Regions from separate parts of the Homo sapiens genome. Here regions 1 and 3 are each linked to region 2. Evidence: promoter capture Hi-C in human tissues and cell types (Jung and others, 2019). All regions are on one chromosome and are shown on one strand. Each heading gives the region's core, a stretch centred on a gene start or on the middle of the fragment in contact. The rest is flanking DNA. Distances are from core to core; before and after follow the strand shown. Region 1 overlaps NKTR (natural killer cell triggering receptor). Region 2 holds the start of KLHL40 (kelch like family member 40). Region 3 overlaps CCDC13 (coiled-coil domain containing 13).

Region 1 (3,488 bases), core at 506-3,005, 59 kb before region 2:
ATTCAAAGATTTGGGACTAAAGTTACCAAGTTAATTTGGTATTTATTTTGTCCTTTGTATTCTTATTTTTTAGGTTAAAGAATAGGAAGAAACCACAATAAAAGCTGGAATTATAAAGTCATAGAGTGGAAAGGGATTTAGAGATTATCTAGTCCAACCTTTTCATTCTGTAGATTATGCTAAATTCTTGAAAAGTCATGTAAAGTCCAGGTTATAGAAATTTTATTTACAATCTGGAAGAAACTGATAGCTAGAAAAAGAATGCTGCATACTTATTCATATTATTAATGCCTTTACTATAAATTTAAGCTTATTTAAGCTCAAAATTTTATTAACCACTCTGCTCTGAATTTATTTTAGTTAAGGATTAGAAGCATCAAACATTTTGCTGGAAAACAAAATGACATTTGGGGAAACATTCTTTCCCCTTTTGCTGTTACTGATAGCTTATTAATTCTGGCTGTAATTTTTTTGTCTTTATATACATTAATCAAAAAGACAAAGATGTTGTATAAAATAGTCATGAAAAAGATTGAGTAAATAGTTTATAGCTTTGTAGTAACTTCTGGGATAGGACACTAATATAGCTGTCAGGAAACCTTGATTTTAGTTTCCTATGTACCTTCAGTTCGTTTTTCTTAAACATTGGTATAAAAATATGGATGTAAAAGGAAGAAGGTATTTTGTAGGGTAGTTGTAAGTTCCTGAATGTGTGGAATGATTTATGTGCAAACATTGTCTTGCCTAATGGAAATAGTCATAATTGCCTAGTTTTCATTAGTCTGAAAAATGTCTTAAAGAAGTATTGGGCTCATCTTAAATCAAGAGCAACAGAAGTCTCTTCATCAGCTGCTGTTAGAACATGAGTCTGCGCAGCCATAGAGTAGGGATCTGCAGACCCTGCAAGAACAGTTCCTGTCACTGGCCACTGTCAGTGGTCATTAATAATTATAACAATGTAAGAAAACAAGATAATATAGAAGAGTCAAACTTTGAACTTTAAACAAAACATGTTTGCTACATTTTAACAGTCATAAATAGGGCAATGGGGGGGCGGGGCATAAGTTTTAGAATATGTTTTATGTCATTTAAGAATCTGACTTGCAAGTACCTGAATGGGAGAGAAGTGCTGATTATTACAAAGTAGTGGAGCAAGGAGAGTTGAGGAGTAGTTGGTTTTAAGGGGTTTGTAAAGCTGTGTTGATGTTTTGGGTAATAAAACTAGATTCGGGGTAGAAATGCTTTTTCTACCCACGTATTCATAAATTTATGTAAGAAGAAATGCTAGTAAGTGTTAATAACCTGAGAAGCTCTAGCTTTTTCCTTCCTTTTTTTGGGGTAATACCTTCATATGTTAATTTCAGATTTTTTCATGAGCAAAGATGTTCGTGAAACTTAGCCATAAACCATATTCTCTGAATATCAAGTGTCATCCCTAACATTCAGGCTTAATAACTTAATGTTTATGTGACTTACGTGCTAGCAATGTGGAAGAAATTTTTTATCTAGTAATGTTTGGTGTGTATTATCTTAACATTAGTGCTGAATTTTAGAAAGCACTTCTATTTTGGTGACTTTTGGAACACATGGGTAGAGCATTGTCAAGTGGCTTGGTTAGTTTCCATTACCCTTATACAAGTGTTGTCATTCTGTACAATTTGGTGCCTCTTCCCTGACAGTGTGATAGTTTCAGGAGTTGAAGGGAAAGCATTGCATGTTAAAAGCTAAAGTGGACAGAAGTTATCTTTATTTCCCTCTTCTGTACTACTTTACACCTACAGTCACTTATTTTTTTTTTTTGCAACATTCATTGAAAACTCCACATTATTTCAAACATTATGTTCTTTTTTGACTTATTCATGTTGTCAATGCCTTTATGATAATTTTAAGCTTATTTTTAAATATTTCAAGATTTATTACATTCAAAACTCTTATAAAGCATTTTGTTCATGGTATAATAGTATTTTGATCTGAGTAGTAATAGATTTATTTGTTTAAATATAGATAAAAATTGGTCAGTGTGTGTTCTCCAAAAAAAAATCTTGATAATGGGGAAAATCAGAGATTAGACAGGAAAAGAAGATATTGTGGCTAAGATTTGACTGCACTTACGCTTTCATCTCTCTTGCCTTTTTATTCTCTGAGAAGGTCCCTAAAATTGTAGTTAATGCTGCTTTATTATTATGTTCAGTGACTTAACTTCAATGTGTATCTAATATCACTGAACAGTAACTAGGGTCCGAACATTTGCTCATTAACTCCTGAAAGTAGTCTGTTGTGATACGTCACCAAACAAAGGTTTCAAATGTAGAAGCATGAAAGGTTCTTTAATTATTTGATGTGAATTAGTTAAAAGTTCCTTGAAATTTTATTTTGGATGATCTTAACTCACTTTTTTCTAATGAAATTTTTGCTTTCAACTGGTAGTAACTGGTCCTGGGCATTCAGATTTTTATATTTATGTATGTATGCAAGATACACTATTCTCTTTTGAGAAAATGTTGTCTTAGCTAATTTCTGGGATTTGTGAAAGGAAATGTAATATGTTAATAGCTATTATTGGCACTCTATGTTACAATATTAAGGATCTAAATAGATTCCCACTTAGCCACGATGCTTTTCTTAAGCATAATTCATCTCTACGTAAATATCCCATATGAAAGAAAATTTAGAGCCCTCCATTTAAAAAAGCTTTCTTGCTCTGCATAAAACTTGAAAATAATTAATTTCAAAGTTATATTGATATTAAAACATAGATTCAGTCTTGTCTTAAAAGTGTATTACAATTTATTTCTTGCCATTTTTGTGTAAAATTTACAGAAAGAGTGTTACACCGTGCGCTCCAAAGGTAATGTCTCATTACTCTAAGGCTCTCTCTCTCTTTGCCTTTATCTCTTTAATTCTGTTGTTATGTGCATTGAAACATTTTAAGAAAAAAAAAAACTTTCTGCTTTATCTGTATAGCAGCAGTACATGTAAAACAAGTGCATTTTATTTTTCATGGTTAATCCTGGGAACTATATTTTAACTTCAGTGGCTTGTTTCCACCAAGTTCCTGTACATCTTCTGGTGGGGGAGTGGGGTTATTAGTTTATAGTATGGTTTTAGTTCTCATTTCAGTGTGGAATTAGTCATTTCTGTATAAGGGCAAAAGGTTCTCTGATAATGGTATAAAACTATAGATTGTTTTTGGAGTAGCAGTGACACTTGTCAATTTCTAAGATTTATAAGGCTTAAATACCTTGCACACATGTTTTTTAAAGTAGATTCAGGGGTCGGGAAAACTGAAAAATCACTGTCTTTAAGTACAAGAGAAAAATGGAAATGCATAAATATTGAAAGGTTTTACAATTTGAAATGTTCTTTGTGGTTTTTTCTTTTTTAGGTATGTTTTCATAAGCATATATAAATTTAAACATTTTTGATAGCCTCTGGCCTTAACTTACTGAGCATGTGTCACCATTGCACAGCTCTTTAAACAGCCGCTT
Region 2 (2,973 bases), core at 474-2,973:
GACCAGCCTGGCCAACATGGTGAAACCTCGTCTCTACTAAAAATCCAAAAAAAAAAAAAAAAAAAAAAAATTAGCCGGGAGTGGTGGTCAGCGCCTGTAATCCTAGCTACTAGGAAGGCTTAGGCAGGAGAATTGCTTGAACCCTGGAGGCGGAGGTTGCAGTGAGCTGAGATTGCGCCATTGCACTCCAGCCTGAGCAACAAGAGCGAAACTCCGTCTAAAAACAAAAGGGACAGAGAGTGATATTGCTGAGATCACAAAAGGGAGGTGACTCAGTCCTAGCCCAGCCTGCTGTCATCTCTCCTATACCCACCCCCTCCCCCACTCCCCCGCCTGACGTTATAAACAAGTGACTCAGAGGAATGATGGGGGTGTGTCTCATAATAGTTCATTCCAATGTCCTGGGGGCTAAATTTAACACACAGCTGCAGCCTCTGGCACTTTGGGAACAAGTTAATCTTGGTGACTGAGGCTGATGTGTGTGTGTGTGTGTGTGTGTGTGTGTCTGGTGGTGGGGCGGGGTGGGGAGGGTGTGGGGAGGGGTGTCAGTAGTCTAGAACAAGGTAGGCATCAAGACTGGCTGTCCTGGGCTTCAACCCTGGTCCCTCAGACCATAGACAAGGTGCAGGGGCCCCATGGCCAGGCAGTCTCAGGTCTGGCCTAATATGCACCAAGAATAGTGAGTATAGATAGCTAAAGTCCTGAAATATTAAACTTGTAGTGTTACTTTTTGAACACTAGAATTCAGAATGTCACTCCCTAGAATGTTAAAACCCCGGGGGTTTAAAAACCTAGAATAGTAGAATCCTAAGAAATTAATTTGCTAGCACATCTGACACCTTAGAAGTGTTAAAACTAATAGTGTACTCCCAGGACACAGTACCTTGGTGCTTCTAAACTTCCAGCAGAGTTGAACTGAGGTCCTTAGCATCTAACTTTGCCACCTCCTCATTGTGTAGGAAGGGAAACTGTGGCTTAACAGAGCGACATGCCCTGCCCCAGGCCTCATAGGAAAGTGGCAACCTTGTTTACCTAAGGTACCTTCTTGCTTTCTTGCAAGGAGGAGGGACAGAAAGAGGAAAAGCTCTTCCCATTTTAAAGGTGAGGCAACGGGGGTGGTGTCTTATGTCTGTAATCTCAGCTACGAGGGAGGCTGAGGCAGAAGAATGGCTTGATCCCAGGAGTTCAAGTCCAGGCTGGACAACATAGTGAGACCCTGCCTCTTAAAATAAAGGCAGGGCAACAGGGCCGCCAAAAAGTGAACACCATGTCCAACTTCTGACCAGAAAACCCAAGCACCCTGTATCCAGGGGTAGCTGGAGTGAGACATATTCCGGGGGGGAAGATGGAGGCACCAGGACAGAAGTTCCCAGAAAGCATGAAGGAAGGGAGACCCTGGAAGAGAGGCTCCAGTGCTTTCCCGTCTCTGGACTGAGGGTCAGAGCTTAGGCCACCTTCTCCCCTAGGGGCATCTCCTGACCAAAGAATCCAGAGTCAAGACCTCTCCGTGCTCCATTTAGAAATGAGGCAGCCAGGCCCTCATCTTTCAGAAGGGCCCAGACACCCCACCCCCGTCCCATAAGCCCCCGGGGCTGAGTCAAGTCTTTCTCTGGGAGGGGGCCTCTGCCCAGCTGTCCCCTGTGCGTCATGTGCAGGAGGCCAGGCGGCTCGCCTTACAGGGACCCGGCCACCTCTATATATAGCCCCTCGAAGACAGCTGCTCAGTCTAAGCAAACCCCAGCAGGAAAGCAGGGGTACAGAGAGGAGCCCCCTTGGCACCGCCACCGCACCCTAGGCCACCCACCATGGCGCTGGGCTTGGAGCAGGCGGAGGAGCAGCGGTTGTACCAGCAGACGCTCCTGCAAGACGGGCTCAAAGACATGCTGGACCATGGCAAGTTCCTCGACTGTGTGGTGCGGGCGGGCGAGCGCGAGTTCCCGTGCCATCGCCTGGTGCTGGCCGCCTGCAGCCCCTACTTCCGGGCGCGCTTTCTAGCCGAGCCGGAGCGCGCGGGCGAGCTGCACCTGGAGGAGGTGTCCCCGGACGTGGTGGCCCAGGTGCTGCACTACCTGTACACATCAGAGATCGCGCTGGATGAGGCGAGCGTGCAGGATTTGTTCGCCGCGGCACACCGCTTCCAGATCCCTTCCATCTTCACCATCTGCGTGTCCTTCCTGCAGAAGCGCCTGTGCCTCTCCAACTGCTTGGCCGTCTTCCGTCTCGGCCTCCTGCTCGACTGCGCGCGTCTCGCCGTGGCTGCCCGCGACTTCATCTGCGCTCACTTCACGCTGGTGGCGCGCGACGCTGACTTCCTCGGACTCTCGGCCGACGAGCTCATCGCCATCATCTCCAGCGACGGCCTTAACGTGGAGAAGGAGGAGGCAGTGTTCGAGGCGGTGATGCGGTGGGCGGGTAGCGGCGACGCCGAGGCGCAGGCTGAGCGCCAGCGCGCGCTGCCCACCGTCTTCGAGAGCGTGCGCTGCCGCTTGCTGCCGCGCGCCTTTCTGGAAAGCCGCGTGGAGCGCCACCCTCTCGTGCGTGCCCAGCCCGAGTTGCTGCGCAAGGTGCAGATGGTGAAGGATGCACACGAGGGCCGCATCACCACGCTGCGGAAGAAAAAGAAGGGGAAGGATGGAGCCGGGGCCAAGGAGGCTGATAAGGGCACAAGCAAAGCCAAAGCAGAGGAGGATGAGGAGGCCGAACGTATCCTTCCTGGGATCCTCAATGACACCCTGCGCTTCGGCATGTTCCTGCAGGATCTCATCTTCATGATCAGTGAGGAGGGCGCTGTGGCCTACGATCCAGCAGCCAACGAGTGCTACTGTGCTTCCCTCTCCAACCAGGTCCCCAAGAACCACGTCAGCCTGGTTACCAAGGAGAACCAGGTCTTCGTGGCTGGAGGCCTCTTCTACAACGAAGACAACAAAGAGGACCCCATGAGCGCATACTTCCTGCAGGTGCCTGACCAGCCTT
Region 3 (3,418 bases), core at 575-3,074, 39 kb after region 2:
ATTTTTAGTAGAGACGGGGTTTCACCCTGTTAGCCAGGATGGTCTCGATCTCCTGACCTCGTGACCTGCCCATCTCGGCCTCCCAAAGTGCTGGGATTACAGGCGTGAGCCACCGCACCTGGCCTATTCCTTTACTTTCTTAATAAACTTGCGTTTACTTTGCACTGTGGACTCCGCCTGAATTCTTTCTTGCAGGAGATCCAAGAACCCTCTCTTGGGGTCTGGATCAAAACTCCCTTTCCTGTAACAGTTTGCAGGAGAATGTCTTCAAGGCCAGCAAGAAAATACTGCTTCCACTCTGGCTTCCTCTGTCTCTGACAGCTAGACTCAGACTAAAAGGACTCATATGATTAGGTCAGGCCCACTCAGAGAGCCTCCTGTTTGATTAACACAAAGTCATCTGATGAGTAACCTTAAATAGCTCTGCAAAATCCCCTTGGCCATGTAAGTTAACATAATTGTGGCAATAATATCCTACCATATTCACAGGTTCTGCCCACGCTCAAGGGAAGAGAAGTTTATAAGGCATGTATATCGGGGGTGGGAATGTTAGAATTCTGCCTACCACAGTAAAAATAGAGGAAAAAAGAAAGAACATTAAATTCAATGGCATTGTAAGAGAGTAACACAACATAGTTCCAAGAACACTAGAGCTGTAAGATTCAACATCGGAATTAGGTTAAAGGAAAAAATCAGGTAATCCTTCCAATAGATACTGAAGAAGCACTGGTAAAATCAGTAGCTATTCCTGACTTTAAAAACTCAAAGTAAAATGAGAATAGAAGGAAACAACACAATAAAGTATTTTAAAATCAGAAACTAATAACCCATCAATAGAAGAATGGTAAATAAATAACAGTGGATTTATACAATAAAATATTCTGTAACCATAAAAGGAAAACGTACTGACATGAAAATGCAATATACTAAGTAAAATAAGTAGCAGAAGATTATGCATACTATATGATCTAATTAAAAAATTTACAACAAATTAAAAATTTAAAAACAAATAAATATAAGGTTAATATAATTCAGCCACTTGACTGAAAACAAAAAGGAATATGTGGCAGCTATTGACTCAACTGTGGGGGAGGGGCTTTCACTTTTCTGTTATGAATTTCAATAATGTATGCATTTTGTTTAACTCCATTTATAATAGGGGAAATAATAAACCAACAGCAAAACATCATATAAAATAGCAAACCACATTGTGAATTCCCACAAAATTTTAGGAATAAGCAAACTCTTGATTTCTCTCCTTCTCCCCTATAACGTGCCTTCCACATCTCAATAAATATTATCCTCACTCATGCAGTTGCTCAGCCCAGATACCCGGGGGTCACCCTTGCCTTCTCTTTCTTCCTCATCTTCAGCTTCCAATCTATCAGCAGGCTCTACAACTTTTCCTGCAAATATGCACCAAAACCAGCTCTTTCTCTGTCCTCGCCCCCTCTCCAGACCTGAGGCTGCTCCTCCTGCCTGGGATCTACAGATGTCCGTAAGCTTCAAGACCTCTTGCACACTTTGGTATTCTGATTATTCTCTTTTGACCAATCTCTGGTCTCACTGATTTTCTTCAGTTGTTAACAGGCCTAACTCAGCTAGATCCTAATTTGTCAATGTATTTGATTGCGATTCTAATAGTTCTCCAAACTCATGTTCATCAATCTCATGAAATTCCAAATATTTTGAAAGATTTACCTTTTTGCTTCATAATTGATTTTCATTGTATTTCAAGAGTCTGACCAAAGTGACCCAATGCCAATGTGAAGTGAAGAATATTAAATAGTCAAATGATGACTGTTTTAATATTAAAAATTTTGCTTTCATGGGGACTGTAACTGTGGGGGTGCTGGTAAAAAATACTCAGATAAGGAGGTTTCCCCCTACCTAAGAATGCTAAGAATGAATTTAGCATAATGACACAAAATCTTCATGAAGACAAACATACATAATATTACACATTATATACATAATACCATATATATGATACATAAAGTGTTCTTTTATAAGTCAAATAAAAATATAAACAACTCTAAAACATGTGCAATGGCATGAATAGGTAGTTAAAAGAAAAAAACATAAAAGTTATGTGGAAAATATACTTATCCTCACTTTTGGTCATAGCAAAGCAGATAAAAACAAGGAGATATTAGCATTTCCTTGTTAGTTTGGCAAAAATGTTAAAGATTAATAAAACATAGTAACTGTGAGGGTATGGGGAAAACAGTTCACATTATTGGTAAGAATGTAAATTGATTCATTTTAAAAGGCAATTTGTCATGATTTGTGAACATTTTAAATGTGCATATTCTTTGATTCAGCCATTTCTTTTTTAGGAATTTGTGATACAGATATACTCCCATAAAAATGTAAAGATGCATTTAATGTAAGTCTATAAAAATATAAAAATTAGCCAGGCATGTTGGCATGTGCCTGTGGTCCCAGCTACTCCAGAGGCTGAGGTGGGAGGATCACTGGAGCCCGGGAAGTTGAGGCTGCAGTGAGCTGTGATCACACCACTGCACTCCAGCCTGGGTGACAGAGTGAGACCCTGTCTCAAAAAAAAAAAAAAAGAGGACTAAGATAATATCCATCTACAAGTTCAGGAAAGTAGTAAGGAAGCCTGCAGTCTATCAGGGCCTTGGGAAATGGGGAGGAGGGGAGGAAGCACCAATCATGTGAAACTGAAACACAAGGGCAGCATTCATGTGTTCAGGGAATCTAAGCCAATAAATTCACATAAAGTACCAATCAGAGACCACTGAAACCCTAAAAGCTTCACAGAGACAAATGCAGAACACCTCCACAGAAACACGGTCATCACCTAAGAACTCCTACAAGGAAAAAAGCCCCACTGAAGATAAGCTCATAAAATCACAAAAATTGAAACCACACAAGGAAATAATTTACTACAAGGGGAGAGCCGACAGACATTACTTAGGATCCTAATTAATGAAGATGGTAGAAAACTCTAAAGGGAATAAGTTCAAAATTATTTAAAGGAGAAAGGCAAAAATTGTAATGAAAGAACAAATGCTATAAGAAAGAGAACAAGAGGGTTTTGTTGTTGTTGTTTTGTTTTTGAGACGGGGGTGTTTTGCTCTTTTTGCCCAGGCTGGAGTGGAGTGGCGTGATCTTGGCTCACTGCAACCTCCGCCTCCCAGGTTCAAGCAATTCTGCTTCAGCCTCCCAAGTTGCTGGGATTACAGGTGCCTGCCACCACACCTGGCTAATTTTTGGATTCTTAGTAGAGATGGGGTTTCACCACGTTGGCCAGGGTGGTCTTGAATTCCTGACCTCAGGTGATTCACCCACCTCGGCCTCCCAAAGTGCTGGGATTACAGGCATGAGCCACTGTGCCTGGCTGAGAACAGGAGCTTTTACCGAAAAATACAGTTATCAAAATAGGTTTCAT

The links. The method cuts DNA at HindIII sites, captures the fragments that hold promoters and counts their contacts. A contact is called where the count stands out against the background at its distance.
Region 1: a fragment that was not itself captured here is called in contact with the fragment with the promoter of KLHL40 in region 2 in 2 of the 25 tissues and cell types used here (pancreas and spleen).
Region 3: a contact is called between a fragment that was not itself captured here and the fragment with the promoter of KLHL40 in region 2, in 1 of the 25 tissues and cell types used here (dorsolateral prefrontal cortex).

Annotation. Positions count from the first base shown.
Region 1 is chr3:42,624,380-42,627,867 of GRCh38, forward strand. All of the region lies in intron 6 of NKTR (natural killer cell triggering receptor), which reads left to right. The region is part of intron 1 of ZBTB47-AS1 (ZBTB47 and NKTR antisense RNA 1); the gene reads right to left. Among named protein-coding and RNA genes, the nearest start is that of NKTR, 25 kb to the left of the region's middle. The HindIII fragment of the contact is 4,741 bases long and covers 1-3,488 here.
Region 2 is chr3:42,683,814-42,686,786 of GRCh38, forward strand. It overlaps KLHL40 (kelch like family member 40), which reads left to right and starts at 1,724. Exons shown (of 6, transcript NM_152393.4): 1 at 1,724-2,957. The coding sequence starts at 1,806. RefSeq lists enhancers at 1-381, 204-498. The HindIII fragment of the contact is 17,953 bases long and covers 1-2,973 here.
Region 3 is chr3:42,722,973-42,726,390 of GRCh38, forward strand. The region is part of intron 13 of CCDC13 (coiled-coil domain containing 13); the gene reads right to left. Among named protein-coding and RNA genes, the nearest start is that of CCDC13-AS1, 7.9 kb to the right of the region's middle. The HindIII fragment of the contact is 3,014 bases long and covers 318-3,331 here.